5 separate regions of the Homo sapiens genome follow, and all the other regions are linked to region 3. The links are contacts of gene promoters, found by promoter capture Hi-C in blood cells and fetal thymus (Javierre and others, 2016). All regions are on one chromosome and are shown on one strand. The core of a region is centred on a gene start or on the middle of the fragment in contact, and the rest is flanking DNA. Distances in the headings are between cores, read along the strand shown.

Region 1 (2,700 bases), core at 167-2,666, 460 kb after region 3:
AGATTTCATCTCTCCAAGCTGACACCCAATTCAAAAAAAGGAGAAAACCAACAGAGAAGGAGGAGACAGGGAATAGCAGAAGAAATCAGGGCAGCCAAAAAAGATATTACAAATTCCATATATTTTATACGCTGCGAAGCTTTACTCACGCTACTTACTATTTATTTTATATACAAGCTTAGTTATCTGGTATCCAAATCATAGAAGATAAAAGCTGCAAATAAGAACAGAGAGGAAGGAGCCAGCTAGTACAGAAACACCAAACAAAGATGTGACAGCAAAAAAAAGCCCAACAGCAAATGCCAAGAGAGAAACATCCATGAAAAGCAAACAAAAAAATTCAAAAAGCTTATTAGTCTGGGGTCATTTAGAATCGGTGGAGTCATTTCAAGTAGGGGCAAATATACAACACATCTATATTTCAACAGGTTTTGAAAACACAGCTATGCTTATAACACCATATAAACACGTTCATCTAAAATGACAATACTGAGTCATCACGATTAAATTATATTCCAGATATTCAGCTTAATAAAGCAAGAAAGTATGTAATCCATTTTACATAATTCCCAGCCAAAAGTTTTAAAGTGTTTTGTTTGTTCTGCTTTCAAATGGCTCCTGATGACCATCCAGAAAACGTAACTATCCAGAATGCCTCATTCTAGGAGGTGCCAGAGATGGTGGTTTTCCTGAATTGAACAAGAACAGCTTTGATTCATGTTAGATTAAGAAGCAGGAAGCCAGAGATTAAATAATGAATAGCTACTGAGCATTCACAGGTCCTCACGGTACACCAGCCACTTGTAAAGTCAAAATAGAAGCAGGAAAGATGCTGTTTGTGCTGTAGCAATCTAAGATGAGGAAACAAGCCAAAAGAGATCTTGAGCCATCTGGTCCCACCCATGACCTAGGGACTCCCCTCTCCAACAACCCTGACAAATGATCAGGAAGCCTCCTCTTGAATGCTCATAATGAGCAGGGAAACTACTCCCTTAAGAGACTGTCAGCTCATTTTCAGGAGTGCCTCTTTAAACTGAGTTGAAATCTACTTTCCTGAACCTCCTAACCATTGGTCCTCGTTCTCTGTCTGGCAACAATATTAATTGATCCACTTTTTGAAACAGTGCTGGGTGAGGAATCAGGATAGACTGCTGTCACTGGCTATCTTTTCTATAAAAGCATTTATTTCCCTTACTCTGCTTAGTAACTAAAGGTGAACACTGGCCTCACTGTGTAACAGTTTCATAAATTCTGCTCTTTCGTTTGGTAAGAGCAGCCTTGCCCTTTCTGGGAGAGCCAAGGCTACACCTGTAATGTCAGAATGCATTAGCAATAATAAAGGCCACGGTAATGCAAGAGCCGACTTCATGAACACGTCATTCCAGAATGGCTAAATTCAATCAAATATGGCAGCGCTTCCTACAACACTACGATCACTGGGGCCAGTGTGTGACGTGGGCCCACTTACTGGAAGCTGTTGGAAAGAGAAAGTGAGCACTCTGCTTTAAGACTAATAGACAGGGTTTTTACCAGCCCACAAGTGGTTCAGCATCCTTCTTTCCCAGGAATTACCTAGAAATTCATTTAACATCTAAAGACTACAAATGAAACTTCAGAAGGTTAAAAGTATATAATGAGAAGGGGCCAAGGGGATGGTATTCACTCAACCTCACCTTAAATATGTATGATTCTTAGGGGGGAAAAAAGTCAACACCCATAAGGTGGTAATCAAAAAGCAAAGCCAAAGATGAGCCAGGTTTAATTCTAACTCAGTCACCAACTTCTTCAGTAACTTTCAGAGCTACTTACCTTTCCCGTTCCTGCTTCCTCATCTGTAAACTGGAACTAATACTGCTTAGAGACTCACAAAGTGGTATAAGGAATAATTAGTTAGCATTTATGTAACACTTTTCATCTTCAAAGTAGGATTACAGACTATAAAGTAGAGTAGATGTGGCTTGAAAAATCTTTTTAAAACCTAAAATAAAGCATGAAAGCAAATTCAGAGAAGTAAACTCAGCTGACATCATCTTAGAGCAGCCAGATAGCTCTGCCTCCACGGGCACCCCCATCTTCCCTAGTCAGTATTTGCATGTGGAGACAAAGGTATAAGGATATTTTATTAGGGAAAATGGGAGGAGATAGAAAGAAGAGAAAAAGGAGAAAGAGAAGGTTAGAGAAAAGGAATGGGAGAAAGTATAAAAGGGAGAAAAGATAAGAGAGAAAAAGAAAAGAAAAGGAGAGAATAGAAAACAGCAAGAAATAAAGGAAGAAAAGACAAATCTTATCCACTAGAAGAAAAACAAAAACAGGAAGAGAGGAAGAAAAAGAGAAATGGAAAAGAAAACTTCTTTAAGGGGATAGTTTTCCTGTTTCCAAAGAAAAAAGAAGATTAAAAAGTAAAAGGAAAGTTCAAAATGTTTAAAAAAAAAAAAAAAGACAACGGCAAAGAGCAGAGGATAGAAAAAGAGAAGATAAAGCTTTCAAGAGTATGTCTGGAAACCAGAAAGCTGGAAGAGAAATCATTAGCAAGTCCATAGTGCGTCTACAGTGATACTGTGTGGATCAATTCATTTAACGCTGCCCTGTACATTTACAGAAAAGTACCTCTGATATAATAAAGGCTCATAAACATGCAGAAATTGGGTTAGACCCGTTTCGAATTCCTGCCAAACAATGGTTCAGAAAAATGAAGCTCTA
Region 2 (2,700 bases), core at 142-2,641, 440 kb after region 3:
TCATCCAAAATATTCCCGATAAAAGGAAGAAATGTTGTAAATTACACAAAATGGCAGTACAAACTTCAAAGAAAATGATAAATGATTCTAATAACTTCACGTTTCTCATTAATGGCTCCATGTTCAGATTTTAAAGCATCCGAAAGAGATCTCAAAACAAAAAACAAAAAAAAAGTAACAGGAAAGACCTTTGCAAACCAATGCTCTTCCATCCCTATACCACTCATTCCCTACTCACCCTCACCCAGCACCCCCACCAGAAGTCACAGAGCACAACACTTAACCAGTCGGTAACACGGACAGGATGCAGCCCCTGCTCCCAGCTGCGGTTTCACAATGAAACAAACTCAGCTGATGCGCCTCATTTTCCACTGAACTGACATGCACTACAGGGACCTCAATTTCTATATTAAATATTAAATAATATTAAAAGAAAAACAAAATTGGATTTGCCTTTTCAGGAAAGAGATGTTTATTAAAAAAAAGAAAGTCAAGATTATAATTCAAGTCAGTGCTCCACTGCAATTCCCTGAAGTGACATTGCTAGGAAAAGCCAAGACTCCAGGAGCTGAGAGCCCTCCCAGAGCCCATGCTCCAAGCCCAGCACTGCAAGGCTTCTGCAGGGAGTCCAAGAGCACGGGTGCCAGAACCCAGGCCCCTCCTGGTCCAGACGGCCAGCGAGCCAATTTGCTTTCCTGCCACAACTACTGTTAGGGACCCAGTAGATGTTCACCCTCATCCCCATCGGAGACGGTGCCAGGCCGTGCTGAGCACGGAAACCTGACCCTGGAACAGCCCGAAATTTGAAAAGTGAAGCTTAAATCTGCGAAGGGGCTTTTCTTCCCCAGACACCGATCAAACCTTGGAATTCTCTGCCCAGAAAAGGTCCTGCCAGAACCTACTCCATTGGGATTCAACTCGGAAATGGATAATTACTGACTGAAGCAGCATTTTAGAGGATAATGGAGATGGGTGATTAACCTCAGAGATTCCAGGTTTAAGTACGGGATAAACTCACATGGTTCTCTTTAGAGGACGAAGGGCAGGATAGCATCTCAAGGTGCCAGATGCCTAAAATTCTAAAAACTCTAACCCAAATTAGGGGTCAAGAAGGAATTATGTCCACTGTACCAATAAACAGTCACCTTCCAGTCTTTGCTCATGTGCCACCCTCTTAGAGACACTCTGACATTCATGTTGTTTAAGATCACAGTCCAGCCCACACCAACTCTGGCATTCCTCACCCCGGCTCCCTGCTTCATTCATCAGTATCCATGGCGCTCGGCATCTGACATCCGACCTATTTCATTTTCCCATTTGTTAATCGTCTGCCTTCCCTCCACTAGAATTTAAGCTCTGCGAGGGCAGGGATTTTGTCTGTTCGGTTCTCTGCTAAATTCCTGATGGGAGTCCAGGGACAGGGCATAGGGTGCACAATGACTCTTGGATGAATTGATCAGTTGGATTTTTTTTGCTAAAGGAGCAACGAATCATAATTGCACAAAAAGTTTTCTCTCTACAGTAATTATTAGCCAAGTAACTCAAAAGAAGTATTATTTGGTCCAGAGTTTCTCTCTCTCTTTTTTTTTTCACTCCCTCTCCCAGTCAGGGATTTATTAAAATTAAACAGATTAGATGGAGCTCCTGATACTAAAACTGCTCAGCAAAGCCTGCGGTGGGGAAGTGCCGAGCAAACACCAGAGACATTTGTCTCTAAATTGCTCTAAATACCTTCTGCAAATGAAATTCTAACCCAGCTGCGTTTGAGAGAAAATGAGGACTAACTGGTCATTGTCGGTGGAAGAGAAGATCAGGCAGTTATAATATTGCACAATATACTGGAGCTAAGGATCTCTCGGCAACCATAGATTTTGTCTCAGGTTACCCCGGGTAATCAGCTCAGCTTTTAGGCTCAGCTTTCCCCAGCTTCAATGCTTTGATGAGAGAGCTGAAATCCCTAAGCTTTTATGATTAATTACTCCCCATAGGTACACATATTTCAAGGAAAAACTCTTTTATGGCATGATGCTTGCGGAGTGGCGAGGCCAGCCAACACACTCCAAATTTTAATAATCTCCTAATGATGGCGGGGGGGGGGGGTGCTGGCACAATGCAGCCAGTGAGCAGCCGTGCAGTGCTCCTTACCAACTCTGTCGCAGGGACCCAGCCTTGGGGCTGCCGCGAAGCAGCTGCCTGTGGTGAAATGTTTGGGCTTCTTCTGCCCAAACCCTGTTAGTGCAGCCCCGGGACATGATCGCATGAAGGGACCAATGGTTCATGCTGCATCCCTTCAGCGGGACATCACAGAGCAGACCTAGGAAATATCACCCACCTATTCCAGCCAAAAATGACTGAAAGCTCAAAACTCAGAATTTCAAGGCTGGCATTCCAGCTCCTTAAGGAAAAAGAGTTTTGCTTTGGGAGGAAGAAAGCTTACTTTTGCCCATCATGGTATATAAGGATGTGTAAATGACTTCCTAGATTTCTAGAAAATTACATGTATAAAAAATTGAAAAGTCAGGTTTCTTTGTAGTTTTCATTTTACAAAAAAAGAAAAATACCCTGAAGTCCAACAGAACCAGAATAGATTGTCTCTTCAGACAATATTGAATTTGTCAGGGTCCACTTTATCCCTGTTTACAGAAATACCATAAAACCACTAATTTACCGCTTCAATCTGTAAATCGGACTGACCCCAAG
Region 3 (2,700 bases), core at 112-2,611:
CTCACACCGTCATTCCTCCGTATGTGTCCGTGCCCTAATCTCCTCTTCCTTTTTTTTTTTTTTTTTGAGACGGAGTCTTATTGTATCGCCCAGGCTGGAGTGCAATGGCACGATCTCAGCTGTCTGCAATCTCTGCCTTCCAGGTTCAAGCGATTCTCCTGCCTCAGCCTCCAGAGTAGCTGGGATTACAGGTGCCCACCACCAAGCCCGGCTATTTTTTGTATTTTTGGTAGAGACAGGGTTTCACCATGTTGGCCAGGCTGGTCTCAAACTCCTGACCTGATGATCCACCCACCTCAGCCTCCCAAAGTGCTAGGATTACAGGCGTGAGTCACTGCGCCTGGTCTTTTTTTTTTTTTTTTTTTTTTTTTTTTTTTTTTTTTTTTTTTTTAGACGGAGTTTTGCTCTTGTCACCCAGGCTGCAGTACAATGGTACGATCTTGGCTCACTGCAACCTCCATCTCCCGGGTTCAAGCAATTCTCCTGCCTTAACTTCCCAAGTAGCTGGGATTACAGGCGTGCACCCCCACACCTGGCTAGTTTTGTATTTTTAGTAGAGATAAGGTTTCACCATGTTGGCCAGGCTGGTCTCGAAGTCCTGACATCAGGTGATCAGCCTGCCTCGCCCTCCCAAATCACTGGGATTATGGGCATGAGTGACTGTGCCCGGCCCCTTTTTTTTTTTTTTTTAGACAGGGTCTTGTTCTGTTGCCCAGGCTGGAGTGCAGTAGCACAATCAGGGCTCACTGCAGCCTCAACCTCCTGGGCTCAAGCAATCCTCTCACCTCAGCCTCCTGAGTAGCTAGGACCACAGGTGTGTGCCACCATGCCCAGCTAGTTTTTAAATTTTTTGTAGAGACAGGGTCTTGCCATGTTCCCCTGGCTTGTTTCGAACTCCTGACCTCAAACAATCTGCCCATCTCTGCATCCCAAAATGCTGGGGTTACAGGCATGAGCCACCATGCCTGGCCCCTCAGCTCCTTTTGAACTCTGCCAGGAGGGGCCTGGAGCAGGGTTCTGGGAAGCCCCATCAAGACAGCGTGACTGTTCCTCCGGTGAAGCTCAGTTTCTTAGCTTCTTTCCTTCCTTGGGCACAGAGACAGGCTTCTCCCGGGAGCGGAGAATGAGGGCCTGCACTCCAGCCTCAGTGGATCAATTCATCTTCAGCCTTCTGATCCGCAATCTTATTTTGAGCTCCCACGGCTGAAGCAATTCATCTCACCCATGCAGAGGGATGGGGAGAAGCTGAGAGTGTTGACACCCACCTGTGTTTTCTGGCACCTGAGTGACCCGAGACCTGCACTGGAGGGGAAGGGGAGGAGCCAACCTTTCGTTTAGTTGCTTGGAACTGCTTCAGATTAAATTCTCCCAGGGCAGGAGAGAGCTGCTGGGCCTGAGGATGTGGGGGTCCCCAGCACTTGCCTGGTAAGTGTCCCTTATTCAGGAATTGGGAGAAGCCAGTGGCATGCTTAGTGTGCCCACACTCCTTGAAGAAGCCAAATATCTTCCATCAGAATCAGAAGCCTTGCATCTAAGAGGGAAGGGGGCCAAATGGGTGAGGGGCCCAGATGCATGGATGCCTTGGGAAGGGCTGACTTTCTCAGGTGAGGTCCGGCCACAGTCTCTCCCACCTTTCTCATGCTCCTGTCATCCCTTGTTCTGGAATTCCAGTCCTCCCATCTTGGGAAGGATTTCCAGAAGATTGGGAGAAAACAGAACACGTCTTCCTTGTCCTAGAGGGTCCTTAAAACAAAACAAATTAGGGGTCAAGTTGACCAAGAGATGCTTGATTTCAAGGAGTTTTCAAATGATAGGAGTTGTGGTCGCTAGCTATTCGATTGTAAGGATTAGGAGAAAATTTCATTTTCCTTCCTTCCCTCCCTTCCTTCCTTCCCTCCCTGCCTTCCTTCCTTTCTCCTTCCTTCCTTCCCTTTCCTTTCTTTTCTCTTTCTCTCTCTCTCTCCCTCTCTGTCTCTCCTTCTTCCTGAGATAGAGTCTTGCTCTGTTGCCCAGGCTGGAGTGCAGTGGCAAGATCATAGTTCACTGTCATCTCTTAACTCCTGGGCTCAAGTGATCATCCCACTTTAGCCTCCTGAGTAGCTGGGACCATAGGCATGTGCCACCACACTTTGGTAATTTTTTAATTTTTTTGTAGAGACAGGGTCTTACTGTGTTGCCCAGGCTGGTCTTAAACTCCTGGGTTCAAGCCATCCTCCTGTCTCGGCCTCCCAAAGTATTGGGATTACGGGCATGACTCACTGCACTTGGCCAAAATCTCATTTTCCTTGGCAACAGAATTGCTACCTCTTTTCCCCATCTGAGATGCATTTTTAAGAGATACTTTAAAAAGCTCCTGAGAGTGGGAAGTGAAGCCTCCCAGGCCAGCTGGAATGTCACAATAGCTGGCTTGTGGCCTTTGGGCCGTGGACTGCAGGGCTTTTGTTGGGCGTTTTGTGAGGTTGAAGTCTGTAGACAATGAAGGCAGTGGAGAAGCTGAGTGGGGCTTTGTGGGGCTGGGCGAGCAAGGGGGAGGTCCGGGCCCTGTCCTGGGGACCCATTGCCTTCTCCTGGATGCCCCATGAGGGGGCTCAGCTTTGGGGGATGGAGCATCATGTCTCCCCCCAGACTGGGATGGGGCAGTTCTGGGTCTGAGAAGTGAGGGGGAAAAACCCAAACCCACATCTTTCTCCCGATTGATGC
Region 4 (2,700 bases), core at 165-2,664, 390 kb after region 3:
TTGCATCTTCCAGTGAGCACAAGACCGGATGTTTGAACCCGCTGTGCCCTCATCACCTCATTCCCATATACCCTTGCAATCTGAGCACCATGTCACAGGCTATTTTCCCCCACACAGCTTGGCACTCACATGCAATGCAGACTATGTCGTCTGGTATTAAACCAAAGATCTGTTTCAGTGTGACGGAAAATGTGGGCTCTACTGAACTTACTGAGAGAACATCTTTCTAAGGGACTTTTAACAATTATTTTTAAAATTAATGTTTAAAAAATATTTGCACTGTATAAAATTCTAAAGATATAAAAGGGTATACAGTAGCCCACCCTTATCTGTGGGGGGATTCATTCCAAGACACTCAGCGAATGCCTGAAACCACAGATAATACAAAATTCTGTACATTCTATGCACAAATTTTTTTTCCTCTTTCACAATTTCATGGATAGATTTGTTCTTACAATAGATTTTAGCAACCTCAGCATATGATTTTTTTTCTTTCCTTATTAAGTCAAGAGCATTCTCTGTTTCACTTAAAGGAAGCACTTTACGGCTTCTCTTTGACATATCTGAATTGCCAGCATCACTACTCTTGCACGTGGGGTCACTATTAAGTAACATAGAGCTTACTTGAACACAAGCACTTGGATACCATGACCATCGATCTGATCACCATGAGGGCTACTAAGTGACTGCCAGGTGGAGGCGTCCACAGCATGGATAAGCTGGACAAAGGGATGATCCACATCTCAGGTAGGACAGCAGGAGGTTTCATCAAGCTACTCAGAATGGCACACAATTTAAAACTTATGAATCATTTATTTCTGGAATTTTCCATTTAAACATTTTTGGACTTTGGTTGGCCTCGGGTACCTGAAAGCATAAGAGGCAGAACTATGGATAAAGGGGGTCCACTTTATCGTGAAAAATCAGTCTCCTTCCCACTCCTGCCACCCTGTTACATCCTCCAGGGGCAACTATTGCTAAAGCTTCTTATATAAAAAGCATACATGTAGCTGGGCACAGTGGTGGACACCTATAATCCCAGCTGCTTGGGAGGATGAGGCAAGAGGATTGCTTGAGTCCAGGATTTCAAATCTAGGCAACATAGTGAGACTCCATGTCTTTTTTTTTTTGAGACGGAGTCTCGCTCTGTCACCCAGGCTGGAGCGCTGTGGTGCAATCTCGGCTCACTGCAACCTTAGCCTCCTGGGTTCAAGCAATTCTCTACCTCAGCCTCCCGAGTAGCTGGGATTACAGGCACCACCACGCCCAGCTAATTTTTTCGTATTTTTAGTAGAGATGGGGTTTCACTATCTTGGCCAGGCTGGTCTTGAACTCCTGACCTCGTGATCTACTCGCTCGGCCTCCCAAAGTGCTAGGATTGCAGGCATGAGCCACTGTGCCTGGCCAAGACTCCATCTCTTTTTTTTTTAAAAAAAAAAAAAAAAAAAAAAAAAGCACATGTGTGTATACATATGTGTGTCCGTATATTTTTATACAATGATAGCACGCTATACATGCTGTTCTATACCTTGCTATTTTTAATTAGGTTATCTTGGAGGATACTCCATATTAGTATCTACAGAGCTCTCTCATTCTATTTAATGGCTATATGGTTGGTATGGATGTACTATAATTTATTTAACATCCCCTACTGAACCTTTACTGCTACAAACAAAGCCATAATAAAGGACCTTGAATATACCACTTGTACATGTGTAAACTATATCCCTAGGAATAGACTCAGATGTGTGCAGTTTTAATTTTAATAAGACCTGTCAAACCTTCTTCCAGGTTGTTTCCACTCACATTCCCTCAACCTTGCCTACATGATGCTATTAAGCTTTTTATCTTTGCCATTCTGAAAGGTTAAAAAATTGTCTCGTTATTTTATTTATTTATTTATTTGAGACAGAATCTCACTCTGTCACTCAGGCTGGTGCCATCTCGGCTCACTGTAACCTCCGCCTCCCAGGTTCAAGCAATTCTCGTGCCTCAGCCTACCGAGAAGCTGGGATTACAGGAGTGTGCCACCAGCCCTGCTAATTTTTGTATTTTTGTAGATACAGGGTTTCACTATGTTGGCCAGGCTGGTCTCAAACTCCTGGCTTCACGTGATCCATCTGCCTCGGCCTCCCAAAGTGCTGGGATTACAGGCGTGAGCCACCACACACAGCCTCATTATAATTTTAAGGAAACTTTTGTTGGCATTGAATATATACAGAAAAGCATGCACATTTTTAAGTGTACAGCTTAATGAATTTTCCCACGGTGAACACACTTATGTAACTACCATCCAGATCAAAAAATAGAGTAACAGCCTCTAGCAACATCCCTTGTCTCCTCCCAGTCACCACCTAACTTCTAATACCACAGATTCAGTTTGCTTGCTTTTGAATTTTATATATGTGGGATAATACGGAAAGCATTCACACCTGTAATCCCAGCACTTTGGGAGGCCGAGGCGGTGGATCATGAGGTCAGAAGATTGAGACCATCCTGGCTAACATGGTGAAACCCCGTCTCTACTAAAAATACAAAAAAAATTAGCTGGGCATGGTGGTGGGCACCTGTAGTCCCAGCTACTCGGGAGGCTGAGGCAGGAGAATGGCGTGAACCCAGGAGGTGGAGCTTGCAGTGAGCAGAGATCACGCCACTGCACTCCAGCCTGGGCAACAGAGCGAGACTCCGTCTCAAAAAAAA
Region 5 (2,700 bases), core at 55-2,554, 490 kb after region 3:
CCAACATAGCAAAACCTCATCTCCAACTGATCCTGGAAATCTTCACAGAGTAGTCCATGATTAAAAAAAAAAAAAAAACAAGGCCGGGCATGGTGGTTCACACCAGCACTTTGGGAGGCCGATGTGGGAGGATCGCTTGGGCCCAGGAGTTCGAGACCAGCCTGAGCAACATGGTAAAACCCTGTCTCTACTAAAAAATACAAAAATTTGCCACGCATGGTGGCACATGCCTGTAAGTCCCAACTACCCAGGAGGTTGAAGTGGGAGGATCAACTGAGCCCAGGAGGTTGAGGCTGTGGTGAGCTGTGATCACATCACTGCACTCCAGCCTGGGTAACAGAGTAAGACTGTCTCAGAAAAAAAAAAAAAAAAAAAGGCTTAGAAACCACCCACAGGCATCTATTGTAACGATGTAAGAAAAGGACCTAAGGCAATCCATGCCCAGGATCCTTAGAGGCCTGAATGGGGAGAGCAGGAAGAGAAGAAAGCAAAAGCAGAAAACTGCTTTAAAAAAACAAGTCAGGCAAAGACTACGGCGGCAGAGAGAGAAATGCTTTTCTTTTGGTAGAGACAAAGGTGCTCTCACTCCTGCTGCCAAGGCGCTGACCTTCCCCAACTGGAAGGCGTTCCCAGATCCTGACCTGCTGTCCAACAAAGAACAACCTCACAAGCAGCTCACAGATTTGAGCAACTGGCGAAAGCTCCAGGTCTAGGAGAACCCATCCTGCATCTGCCCAGTAACTGCGACTTCAGATAGGAGAACCCATCCTGCATCTGCCCGGTGACTGTGACTCCAGATAGGTCCTAAGCCAGTCTGTGTAGTTCTCTGCTGGGAAGAATAAGATTCGATCCCACCAATATCCTTTGAGATGCAGTGGCATGACAGAAAGTACACAAGCTTTGGCATTAAGAACTCAGTGATTTGGGGGCACGCTGCTCAACCTCTCTGAGCCTCAGTTTCCTCATCTATGGGAATAACGGGAATAATACCACCACCTCACATTTGGGATTAGAGGAGATGATAAGTTATTTCATGTCACTCCTCTGCTCAAAGTCAACCAATGCACTTCCACTTCGGGTCATGATGGAGTGATAGGGAACAGATTTGCCCTCCCACTGTAAACAACTAGAAAACTAAGCCAAATAAATAAAACCACTGTGTGTACACATTGGACAGCAGGCAGTGCAGGACTACGATCCCTGAAAGCAGAGAAACAAATTACTTGGGCCCTAAAATCACTCTGGCTTCCTGCCAGGAGACACATTTCAGGCCCTGGAGAGAGACGGGGATCCCCAGCAGAGCACGCCACCCACTTAAGTTGAAGAGACAGAGATCAGAGTTCAGGGAGGCCAAGGCAGCTGAAAGCTGCAGGACAGACTTCAGAAAGAAAGAGCTATGCAGAAAAAGTGGTCCAGAAATCTGTCTGGAGGTTCCCTCAGGTCTCTGCTGAATACTAAAATTTGTGCATGCATAGGGTGAAACTCCACAGTGAAGAAGAAGCTAGGAGCTGACATTTCTTAGAACTCTCAGGGGAATCATGAGTCCCAAGCAGCCAGACTGGAGTGTCCTCACAGGGCATTCAGGAGAGACCAGAGGTCAAATGATCCCTAGATTAAAGATTATCCAGATCCACTCTAACAAAGCTAAAAAACAGGACTCAAAATGATAACAGTAAACCATAAAAAACTGCACAGAAGAAAAAAGCTTTAAGCACTCTTTAAAGACCACAAAATCCATAACCTCAACAATACTGAACTCACAATATCCAGCATCCAATAAAAAATTTCAACACATGGCCAGGCACGGTAGCTCACGCCTGTAATCCCAGCACTTTGGGAGGCTGAGGCGGGCGGATCACCTGAGGTCACGAGTTCGAGACTAGCCTGACCAACATGGAGAAACCCCGTCTCTACTAAGAATACAAAAATTAGCCGGGTGTGGTGGTGCATGCCTGTAATCCCAGCTACTTGGGAGGCTGAGGTAGGAGAATCACTTGAACCCAGGAGGCGGGGGTTGCGGTGAGCCGAGATCGCGCCATTGCACTCCAGCCTAGGCAACAAGAGCAAAACTCAGTCTCAAAAACATAAAATTTAATTTAAAAATTTCAACATATGTCAAGAAGCAGGAAAATGTAACCAATAACAATAAGAAAAACCAGACGATATAACTAGTAGACAAGAACAGTAAGACAGGTGTTACAACTATACTCAAGTATTTAAATGAAAACATGTCACAGTAAGAAGAGAAATGTAAGGTATAAAAAGAAAATAGAGGCCGAGCACAGTGGCTCACGCCTGTAATCCCAGCACTTTGGGAGGCCGAGGCGGATGGATCACGAGGTCAGGAGATCGAGACCATCCTGGCTAACACGGTGAAACCCCTTCTCTACTAAAAATACAAAAAAAAAATTAGCCAGGCATGGTGGCGGGCACCTGTAGTCCCAGCTACTCAGGAGGCTGAGGCAGGAGAATGGGGTGAACCCAGGAGGCAGAGCTTGCAGTGAACCGAGGTCACGCCACTGCACTCCAGCCAGGGCGACAGAGTGACATTCCGTCTCAAAAAAAAAGAAAATAGAATTTCTAGACATGAAAAGTATAATATGTAAAATAAAAATTTCAGGCCAGGTGCGGTGGCTCACGCCTGTAATCCCAGCATTTTGGGAGGCCAAGGCGGGTGGATCGCCTGAGGTCAGGAGTTTG

What was found. Contacts are between HindIII fragments. The CHiCAGO score rates a contact against its expected background, and 5 or more counts as called.
Region 1: a fragment that was not itself captured here is called in contact with the fragment with the promoter of CIROZ in region 3 in 5 of 17 cell types (endothelial precursors, M1 macrophages, megakaryocytes and 2 more); the score reaches 9.1 in endothelial precursors.
Region 2: a fragment that was not itself captured here is called in contact with the fragment with the promoter of CIROZ in region 3 in 1 of 17 cell types (endothelial precursors); the score reaches 5.5 in endothelial precursors.
Region 4: a fragment that was not itself captured here is called in contact with the fragment with the promoter of CIROZ in region 3 in 1 of 17 cell types (M2 macrophages); the score reaches 5.1 in M2 macrophages.
Region 5: a fragment that was not itself captured here is called in contact with the fragment with the promoter of CIROZ in region 3 in 1 of 17 cell types (endothelial precursors); the score reaches 5.1 in endothelial precursors.

The regions. Positions count from the first base shown.
Region 1 is chr1:10,520,717-10,523,416 of GRCh38, reverse strand. All of the region lies in intron 2 of PEX14 (peroxisomal biogenesis factor 14), which reads right to left. Among named protein-coding and RNA genes, the nearest start is that of PEX14, 47 kb to the right of the region's middle. The HindIII fragment of the contact is 2,132 bases long and covers 351-2,482 here.
Region 2 is chr1:10,536,742-10,539,441 of GRCh38, reverse strand. The region is part of intron 3 of PEX14 (peroxisomal biogenesis factor 14); the gene reads right to left. Among named protein-coding and RNA genes, the nearest start is that of PEX14, 63 kb to the right of the region's middle. The HindIII fragment of the contact is 1,146 bases long and covers 819-1,964 here.
Region 3 is chr1:10,980,737-10,983,436 of GRCh38, reverse strand. It overlaps CIROZ (ciliated left-right organizer protein containing ZP-N domains), which reads left to right and starts at 1,361. Exons shown (of 13, transcript NM_001170754.2): 1 at 1,361-1,425. The coding sequence starts at 1,400. The HindIII fragment of the contact is 7,392 bases long and covers 1-2,700 here.
Region 4 is chr1:10,586,650-10,589,349 of GRCh38, reverse strand. The region is part of intron 3 of PEX14 (peroxisomal biogenesis factor 14); the gene reads right to left. Among named protein-coding and RNA genes, the nearest start is that of PEX14, 110 kb to the right of the region's middle. The HindIII fragment of the contact is 857 bases long and covers 986-1,842 here.
Region 5 is chr1:10,488,376-10,491,075 of GRCh38, reverse strand. All of the region lies in intron 1 of PEX14 (peroxisomal biogenesis factor 14), which reads right to left. Among named protein-coding and RNA genes, the nearest start is that of PEX14, 15 kb to the right of the region's middle. The HindIII fragment of the contact is 807 bases long and covers 901-1,707 here.